Linked DNA regions of Homo sapiens: region 2 is linked to region 1. Evidence: promoter capture Hi-C in 16 types of primary human blood cells and fetal thymus (Javierre and others, 2016). All regions are on one chromosome and are shown on one strand. The core of a region is centred on a gene start or on the middle of the fragment in contact, and the rest is flanking DNA. Distances in the headings are between cores, read along the strand shown.

The links. The method cuts DNA at HindIII sites, captures the fragments that hold promoters and counts their contacts. A CHiCAGO score of 5 or more calls a contact.
Region 2: a fragment that was not itself captured here is called in contact with the fragment with the promoter of SPEF2 in region 1 in 5 of 17 cell types (naive CD8 T cells, total CD8 T cells, activated CD4 T cells and 2 more); the score reaches 6.7 in naive CD8 T cells.

What each region holds. Positions count from the first base shown.
Region 1 is chr5:35,615,932-35,620,719 of GRCh38, reverse strand. It overlaps SPEF2 (sperm flagellar 2), which reads right to left and starts at 2,857. Exons shown (of 37, transcript NM_024867.4): 1 at 2,665-2,857. The coding sequence starts at 2,722. RefSeq lists an enhancer at 2,007-2,814. The HindIII fragment of the contact is 5,837 bases long and covers 1-4,583 here.
Region 2 is chr5:35,885,008-35,889,917 of GRCh38, reverse strand. No RefSeq gene overlaps it. Among named protein-coding and RNA genes, the nearest start is that of IL7R, 31 kb to the right of the region's middle. The HindIII fragment of the contact is 1,788 bases long and covers 2,667-4,454 here.

The DNA.
Region 1 (4,788 bases), core at 1,608-4,107:
CAGCTAACTAATTCTTTGTAATAACTGCATAACAATTCATAGTATGAATAAAGCACCATGTATCCAAGCATTACACTTTTGAAGGATACTCAGATTGTTTCCAATTTTTATTTTTGCCCCTGTAATTCATGTAGCAATAAACGTCTTTGTTCAAATATCCTTATATATTGGTGCTTTTATTTTTATTTGATAGATGCTGAGAAGTAGGATTTAGCATTTATGTCCAAAGTGCTATTTTAAATGCTTTACATTTAATATCCCATTTAATCTTGATACAACCAGATGAGGTATCATTATTATTGCTGTTTTTAAGTATGATGAAATTTAGGTAAATAACTTGTCCAAAAGATTTCCAAGCAGTCTAACCTCCAAGTTCTTGCTTTTTACACTTCCCTTACCCAGAAATTGCCTGATTACTTTCCCCAGAGGTTGCACCCACTCACAGTCCTTCCATGATAGATTCTACAAACCATCCAAAGCCTTCCATTGTGCACCACACAACAGTTTATCTAATGATGGGGCAGCAGCAGCAGGAAATGTGCTTCCTTGAGTGCACAAATCCTAGCTTGTTGGCTTACAAACACAGTTAAGTGTGTTCCCAAAGACCTTTTACAATGTGGAATCTGGTTACCTCCTCAAGGACTCTCTCGCTCTATCTCTCTTATAGTAGTTGAGATTAAAAAATTAATACGTTTTGCTAGTGAATGGAAAGCAGAATACTCCATTAGAACGGGGCATCTCTGCTAGCTTCCAGATCTACACTTCAGGAGCACAGACGCCAGGAATTTTCTATCCATAGCCTAAATGTTGTTAAAATTCTTACTTAGTCTTCAGCCCTTTTATGTTTATCCTCCACCTCTCAAAACCTAAATTCCCAAAACTAATTAAAATTATAATGGCATCTACTGTTTTTATTTTATGTATCTTTATTAATTTCATTTATTTCTCCTAAAAGTATTTCAAAATGTTGCAATAGAGTCCTGGGGACTTCAGCAAAGGGTGTTTTTTGTTTGTTTGTTTGTTTTGTTTTTTGTTTGTTTTTTGAGACAGAGTCTTTCTGTGTTGCCCAGACTGGAGTGCAGTGGCGCGATCTCGGCTCACTGCAATCTCTGCCTCCTGGGTTCAAGCGATTCTCCTGCCTCAGCCTCCCAAGTAGCTGGGACTACAGGCACCCGCCACGACGTCCGGCTAATGTATTTTTAGTAGAGACAGGATTTCACTATGTTGGCCAGGCTGGTCTCGAACTCCTGACCTCATGATCTGCCCACCTCGGCCTCCCAAAGGGCTGGCATTACAGGCGTGAGCCACCGCACCCGGCCCGGGTGTGGTTTTTACTAATAAAATAAATGAACTAAATTAAACTAAGCAATATGTAACTGCTTTTCTTTTAGAAGAGTACAACTTAAGGGCATGATATTTTATTTTGGCTCCTATGGTGAGACAGGAATAAGAAACAATAAATGCTAAATATTGTCCTCAGTCCATCATATTTTAGCAAATAAACAGTTGGAGACACAATGGGATAATCGTAGAATACCAGGAAAGAATTTATTGCAGTTCACAGGGAGTGTGTAGATGGTTATTTGACAAAGAAAGAGTCTGAGGTTTATGCCTCAAGAAATGCAACAGGAGATGCTCCGTGCTAAAGATCCTCATGCTGAGAGTATTAATAACTACTTTGCACCCACAGAAACACTACCGATCTAGCAACTTCTGTAGATAAGCTAAGGTTGAACTGGCACCACTGCCTCTCTGGTAGCAAGCTGGTGTTAAGCAAGTTCTTCTGGGAAAATGGACTGAAATGACTTGCCCTGAAAACCTCTTCCCTTAAGCAAAAAAAGAAAAAAAGACAAACAAAACCAACTGAAAAATGAACTCCTGAAGAATTACAGGGCAGTCAAGGAAGCTGCCAGCATGTAAAATTGTCTCTGTGGTTGTCAGACTTGGAAACTTTGGGTGGCAACTGCATGGTTAGGATAAAATTAGGTTGGTGAATAAGGTCAGCTTTGGGCAAGAGCCAATAGTGACCAGAAATAGCTAGTTTGTGATTTGGGGCTTAAAATTTACTAAAATTTGTAAATGTTAACATATTCTACATTAACTTATTTTTCACCCACCCTCCCCTGCTGGTCAGTTAAGTATGGAAAGCATTATTAGGTCCATTTTATAGAGAAGGAAACACATTCAGAGAAGGTATTGTAACTTGTCCAGTGGCTTCATATTTCATCGACTAGCCACCACACCATGCTTCTGCTTCTGGTGATGTGAAGGAGGCATCGTTGGGGTCAGACTACAAAGTCCAGCAAAGTTCCCTCTCCACAGAAGCAAAGGAGACCTTCCTAAACCCTCTGATTGCCTAGAACCACATCACAAAGTCAGAATGCCTGCGGGTTGGGCCCACCGTGACAAGGGTAACTCGAGAGCGGCAGAGTGGGGACGTGACAAGGCCTTGCCCTGGCTGGGGTGAGCTGTAGGGAGGTGGCGGGACGGACCTGGGGCACCGCCGAGCCGAGTTGCTCACTGTGGGATGCTGCCGGCTACGCAGGTGCCCCACCTGTGCAGCTCGCGCCCTGCCCGCCACCTTCCCTGAGTGCGCTGCGCTGCGCTGCAGGCTCTGCGCCCCGCTAGCCCCTCAGACGCTCGCCCCTGGCCGTGGTCACTCACTCACGGTCCGGGACACCTTCAACTCCTTGTTGAGCCACTGGCACAGGATCTCCGACATGGTTCAGCCGGTGCCTCAGACCGCAGGCGGGGGCTTAGAAACTCGCCAGGAACCAAGCCTGCCAGCCCGCGTCCTCCTGTAGCCAAGGGCAACCCTTTGCTATGGAAGCGTATCCAGGCTGGAACTAGGCGAAAGGCCTTAGAGAAGAGGGGACGCTAGGGCTCAGCCGCAGAGGACAGAAAATCGTGTTTCGCCACCTGCTGGCGGGTAAGACCTGAGCGTGCGCCAGCGCAGGAGGAAGCCGTTGGGGGCCTGTGAGAGAAGTTAGGGAGCAGTGGGTGTGGGGAGAGGCGAGGCGGGAACACTTAGGGACACAGCAGGAGCTTCTTAGGTGAGCAGAAAGTAAAACCAGAGTCTCCGCAGGGCTCCGTGGCTCACGCAAATAATCCTACCACTTTGTGGAGGGGGTGGCGCTCGACTGAGCCTGGGAGTTCAAGACCAGCCTGGGCAAGGTAGCAGAAACCGTTTTTTTTTCTGTAAGAAATTAGGCGGCCGTGGTGGCGTGCGCCTGTGGTCCCACCAGCTCAGGATGCTGACGTGGAAGGATCAACCCAGGAGGCGGAGTTTACAGTGAACCGAGATCGAGCCACTGCACTCCAGCCTGGGCAACAAAATGAGACTCTGTCTCAAAAAAGAAGAAGAAAGAAGAAAGAATAACAAGAAGGAGAAGGAGAGGGAGAGGAAGAGGAGGAGGAGAAGAGGAAGAACAGGAGGAAAAGAAGAAAGAGAAGGAGAAGAAGGAGAACAAGGAGAAGGAGGAGAACAAGGAGAGATCAAAGAAGAGGAAGAAGAAGAAAAAAGAAGAGGAAGAAAAAGAAGAAGGGTATTTGGGGTATCCATCACCTTGAGTATTTATCATTTATATACGTTGGTAACATTTCAAATCTTCTCTTCTAGCTATTTTGAAATATACAATGTATCATTGCTAACTATAGTCACCCCAGTTGCTAGCTAACATTAGACCCTATTTCTTCCATCTAACTATAAGTTTGTACCCATTCACCAACCTCTCTTCATTTCCCCTTCCCACCCTCACATCCTTTCCAGTCTCTGGTACTCATAATTTTGTTCTCTATCTCCAGGGGATCAACTTTTTTAGCTACCACATATGAGTAAAACATGCAGTATTTGTCTTTCTGTTGCCTGGCCTATTTCATTGAACATAATGGCCTCCAGTTCATCCATGTTGCTGCAAATGACCTGTTTTCATTCTTTTCCATGGACAAATGGTATTCCGTTATGTATATATACCATTCTTTCTTTTTCCATTTGTTCGCTGATGGACACTTAGATTTATTCCATATCTTGGCTATTTTGAATAGTTCTGTGATAAACATGTGAGTGCAGGTATCCCTTTGATATACTGACTTCTTTTCCTTTGGATAGATACACTGTAGTGGAACTGCTGGATTTTATGGCAGTTCTGTTTTTAGTTTTTTGAGAAACCTCCATACTGCCTTCCATAGTGGTCATACTAATTTACATCCCCACCAACAGTATGAGTTCCCTTTTCTCCACATCTTCTCCAGCATCTGTTGTTTTTTGTCTTTTTAATAATAACCATTCTAACTGGGGTAAGATGGTATTTTATTGTGGTTTTGATATGCATTTGATAATTAGAGATGATGAATTTTTTCATATACCTGTTGGCCATTTGTACCTCTTCTTTTGAGAAATGTCTATCCGTGTCCTTTGCACACTTTTTAGTGGGATTGTTTGTTTTTTTAGTGTTGAGTTGTTTGAGTTTCTTGTATGTTGTGGATATGAGTCCCTTGTCAGATTAATAGTTTGCAAATATTTTCTTCCATTCAATGGGTTGTCTCTTCACTCCGTTGATTGTTTCATGTATTGTACAGAAGCTTTTTAGTTTAATATAGCCCCCAGTTGTCTATTTTTGTTTTAGTTGTCTGTGCTTTTGAGGTCTTATTCATAACATTTTTGCCTAGGCCAATGTCCTGAAGTGTTTTCCCTATGTTTTCTTCTAGTAGTTTTATAGGTTTAGGTCTAACATTTAAGTCTTTAATCCATCTTGAGTTGATATTTGTGTATGTGGTGAGAAATACTGT
Region 2 (4,910 bases), core at 2,311-4,810, 270 kb before region 1:
TTGTTCTTGGATATGAAGCAGAGCCAATGCAGAAGGAGTGGGAAGTGTGTAACCTGAGTTCACACAGGTCATCCTTCTTTTCAGAGTCCCTTAAGTCCACTGAATTTTGGGAACTTCTCTACCACACCTGGAAAACGGCAACTTTGAAAAGCTGCCAGTGGGATAGGTGAAGAGCTGTTTTGAGATATCTGTGGTCCATCTAAGTGAGAAATCCAATAGGCAGTTGGATGTTCATTCATTGAACCAATATATATATATTTATTGATCGAATATTAGGTGCTACCAGTGAGTACTTCTTTAAGTGCTGGGGATCTAGCCTTGAACATATAAATATAGCACACTTCTTCATGGAAGTTCAATCTAGCAGACATGATTCTGAAGTTTACATCTGGAAACTTGGAAACAATGGAAAATGTTGACGTTAAAAAGCCAATTAACAGAACAATAGAAGCAAAGAAACAAGAGAGATCAAATGACTGATGAAGCAAGGTTCTGGAGGAAGAGAGACGGATAGAGATAGAGTTAAGGGCATTGAATGGTTGGTTTGGTCTTCTACAGATGAAGGGTTAGCTTGTTCTTAGACTAGGGGAATAGCAGGCAGGAATTTATCCAGTTTTGAGTTTGCAGATGGAGATAGGAAATGAGAGCAAAAACATGAGTTATGGTCTACATTTTTTCAAAGTATAGGCAAACTTATTTTCTGGGAATGAGAAAGGCCAAGGTTCAATGGAAGACTTAGAGTAAAAGGTGAGTGTATTTGACAATGGTTATCGAGGGCATTGGAAAAGAATGCTGTCAAGCACAAATAAAGGAAAACAAATTTATATGGGCCCCGTTTGGCAGCATTATGTGATTTTTCACTAAGACAGTTTAGCAGATAAAGTGCAGAAGCAGAGATGTGACTTGTAGGAACATGTTGTATCATCTTGTTCCATAGCATTTGTCACTGCAATTTGTATAATAAGAAGGCCTTGATAAACTGTGATGAAATTTATTAATTACTTAAAATACTGAAGGATAAGAAATCTTGAAATATACTGTTGTACTATCCACATCACAAGGGAGAAATCAGATTATGACTCTAGAATAGAAAATCTTGCTATCAAGGTTATTATAGTCTAGATTTTACAGAAAAAATGAGAATAATAATTCTAAGTAAGAGTTATATTAATACATAATTTATACTTTTATTTTGTATAATAATATATACATACATATATGTATGTATACATATGTATACTCCCATATATATGTATATATGTATGTATACATATGTATGCATACATGTATACTCCCATATATGTATGTATACATATGAATGTATATATGTATACATATGTATGTATATATATGCATGTATACATATATACACATCTATATACTACCCCCCTCAAAAAAAAAGAAGACAAAAGAAATAAGAGGAAGTTTCCTGCTTTCATGCATCCACCACCATCCCATTCTTTTCCCCAATAACCACTGAAAACATTTTGGAGCACTGCCTTCCAAACTTTTTTCTAAGCATATTCTCATTCTAATATTCCCTCTTTTTCTCTCTAATTAAAAAAAAAAAAAACCCTCGTTCTGATGATAGACATTCTTGTTTTCTTCTCCAACATTCTCAGTTTCTTCCTTCTTTGTCACCCCTATTTTGACCAGGTACCCATCTCATTCTCAGTTCTGGAAAAGGTGAGCCATTTCCAAGCCAATAAGTTCATGGCATTTTCCTAGTGACTGTTATTGGCCCAAAGATATGCATATGATTTCAACTGGATCAATCATATAAAAGGGAAAACCTTCCATTTCACACTGAAGAGAACAGTATTTTTTTAATGTTAACAATTTCAGTAAGAAATGATTATAATTTTGCTATTAGATTAACAGATCCATGTATATTGAAGTCCTCGCATGACCCAAATACTTTTTCTTCCCTAAAGTTTCTCAATACACATATAGACAAAACTTATTTCACAAAGTAATGGAAAGCATGTGGCTGTAGTCTTGCTGCAATATGGATGAGATAGGAAGAGCTTCCTCAAATAGGGAGGTGACATTTGTGTCTTTCTGTAAATGTAACCTAAGCTGTCCTCATGTATGACTGTAAGATATTGCATTAATGGCTTGACTCTTCACTCTTTCTCCTATCCACCTATTTTACCATGTGATTTTAAGTTTCTACCCAAGGGGAAATATATTTCTTCACTCCTTGATTCTGGGTTTGGTCATGTGATCTTCTTTGCCAATAAAATGAAGTGGAATTGATGGGTAGGCCAGCCTTGCATTTTTCTGCTTGCCCTCTTATGCCCCTGCTGTAAAAAGAGGCAGCTGGGTTAGCCTGCTTGTCTCTGGAGAAAGACGGGAAACTTATGGAACAGAGGCATTCCCAGCTGAACCCAGCTAACTTTCCTTCAGTTTCAGATCCCTGAGTCATCCTAGCTGTTAGTAATATCATAGAATCACCCAGCAGAGCCCAATCTAGATCATTCAACACAATTTGTGAGAATAAATGTTGCTTAAAGCCGCTGAGTTTTGGCATGATTTGTTGTTGAGCATCAATGTAGCAATAGCTGATAGATACACCGCACATTTCGGATTTTTCATGGAAATGATAGGGGGAAGGAGTAAGAGAAAGATGGAGACTTTTGGAGAGTTTTATCTTGCTAGAAGCTTTTGACAAAATAACATAGACATTTTTCTTTATCAGCATATGTAGCACTACCGTGCTAGTTTTACAATGCTGGTAATTTCTTTACTAAATTTTAAAAAGTCACAACCAAAAGAAAAGATAAAAAGAAACTGGAAAAACATAGTAACATTATGACAAGCAAAGTTCTGTTATCCTTAACACCCGAAGTGTTATAATTCAGCAAGCAAAAGATGAAGAGTCTAAGAAGGAAATTTTTTTTTACATTAAAAGAATTTTTTAATGGCTTTGTTAGTATTCCATAATATGAATATACTATAATTTATTTAGATTTAGAATTCTTAGTTACAAGAAATAATATATAGATATTTTATACATAGAATTTCTAGGTATACACATTAAAATTTTTGTTATATATTTCCAAATTGTCCTAATTTACATTCCTATTAACAGTATATGATAAAGCCCATTTTCCTATGCCCTTCTCAGCACTGAAATTTAGTGATCTTTATAATTTTCACAATTTAATGGGCAAAGCATTTATCTCATTCATTTTATCAGCATTGTTTATTCAGAATGAGATTACGCACATTTTCCTATTTTTAAAGTTTGTTTTATTTCTCCTGTGAGCCTTCTGTTAATGTGCTGTGTTCATTTCCTTCTTGGGCTCTTCATCTTTTGCTTGCTGACTTGTAAGACTCTGGGGTCTTATAAGGATAACAGAAGTTTGCTTGTCATAGTGTTACTGTCTTTCTCCAGTCTATTTTTATCTTTCTTTTGGTTGTGACTTTTTAAAATTTAGTAAAGAAATTACCAGCATTCTAAATTTTATCTAGTCAAACATATCAATCTTTTCCTTTTATGGCTTTTAGGTTTTACGTTTTATCTAGAAACGCTTTTTGCATCCAAAAAATATGAAATGATTGATCCATGTATTCTAGCATTTGTTTTTATTTTAAAAATTATTTATATCTTTGAGTTATGTGGAATTTATTTTGAAATAAGAAGTCAGTTACCTTTCTTCATTTGCAAATGGCTAGTGTGTTATTCCAATCTTATTTGCTAAATAATCCACTTTAACCCTACTGATTAGAAATGGATGAATTTTTTGTAATTACATAGATCTGGACTTGCAGATTCTCTGTTTTATACCATTGATAGTTCTGTGAATTCCTGCTGAATCAAATTTTAAAACCACGTGAATGGTTAGTTGCTTCACAATTCTTTTCTTCTCTGGAATTGTGCAGGCTATTCTCCAACATTTATTTCTCTGCAAGATATTTAGAATAATAGTGTATGCACAGAAGAGCATCTGGAAGCCTAAATGTCACTTATTAAATGTGACTATTCCTGAAGAGTGTGATTAGAAAGTGACATCTTCAACTTGATACATTACATGTCTATCTTTTTTTAATTTGAGGACACAACCAAATAATAGTTTAGTTGTAAAGATTCCATAAGAATTAAAAAAAATAAACATGAGAATATTGTAAGCGGAGACCTTAATAAAGTATCTGTGTCTTGTAGTGTGTTTTCTACTTGATTCTCTTGTGTTTTCCATATATACAATAATTTTATCTGCCAATAATGACGATTTAATTTTCTCCTATTCAATATTTATGCTTTTTACTGTGTTTTCTTGTTTAATTGAATTTCTTAGAATTTCTAAAACCATGTTAAATGAAGTGACAATAGAATTTCTTTTGTCTTATCCTTCAATATAATGGAGTACTTTTAAAATTTCACCACTGAGCATGACCCTAGCTTATCTGCTCTTATTTTATTAAAATTTTTTATTTGAGAAAATAAAGCTTTAAGCATCATTCAGTTCTACACTGGCAACTTCACACTTGAACTTCACACTGTGAAATTCATGAAAGTTTATAATTATGTAGCAAACAGGTTTATCAGTCTGACACTATAGCATTTACTGAAGCTCTAATTAAATTAATGCTTTCTTAGGCTCTAAAAGTAATATTTCAGTCTATCAGTGGATAAGCTTAATAATAAAATGTTTTCTGATTATTCTGCATAGTTTTTGTGTCATGACTAGTGCAGTTCATACTTTGCAGGAACTAATTTATCATAAAAAGAGGGTCCTTTTCAGTCTCTGTAAGTTTTCCACCTCTTCTTGATGAAAAATCTTTACTTAGGGTAAAGGCAAATTGGTTCTAACAATTTACCATTGAGAGGCCCTCCAGATGAACTCAAGTGTTTCAGCACAATTCAGTATGTAAGCCTTATTTTTCAATCCTCAGGGGCTTTGCAT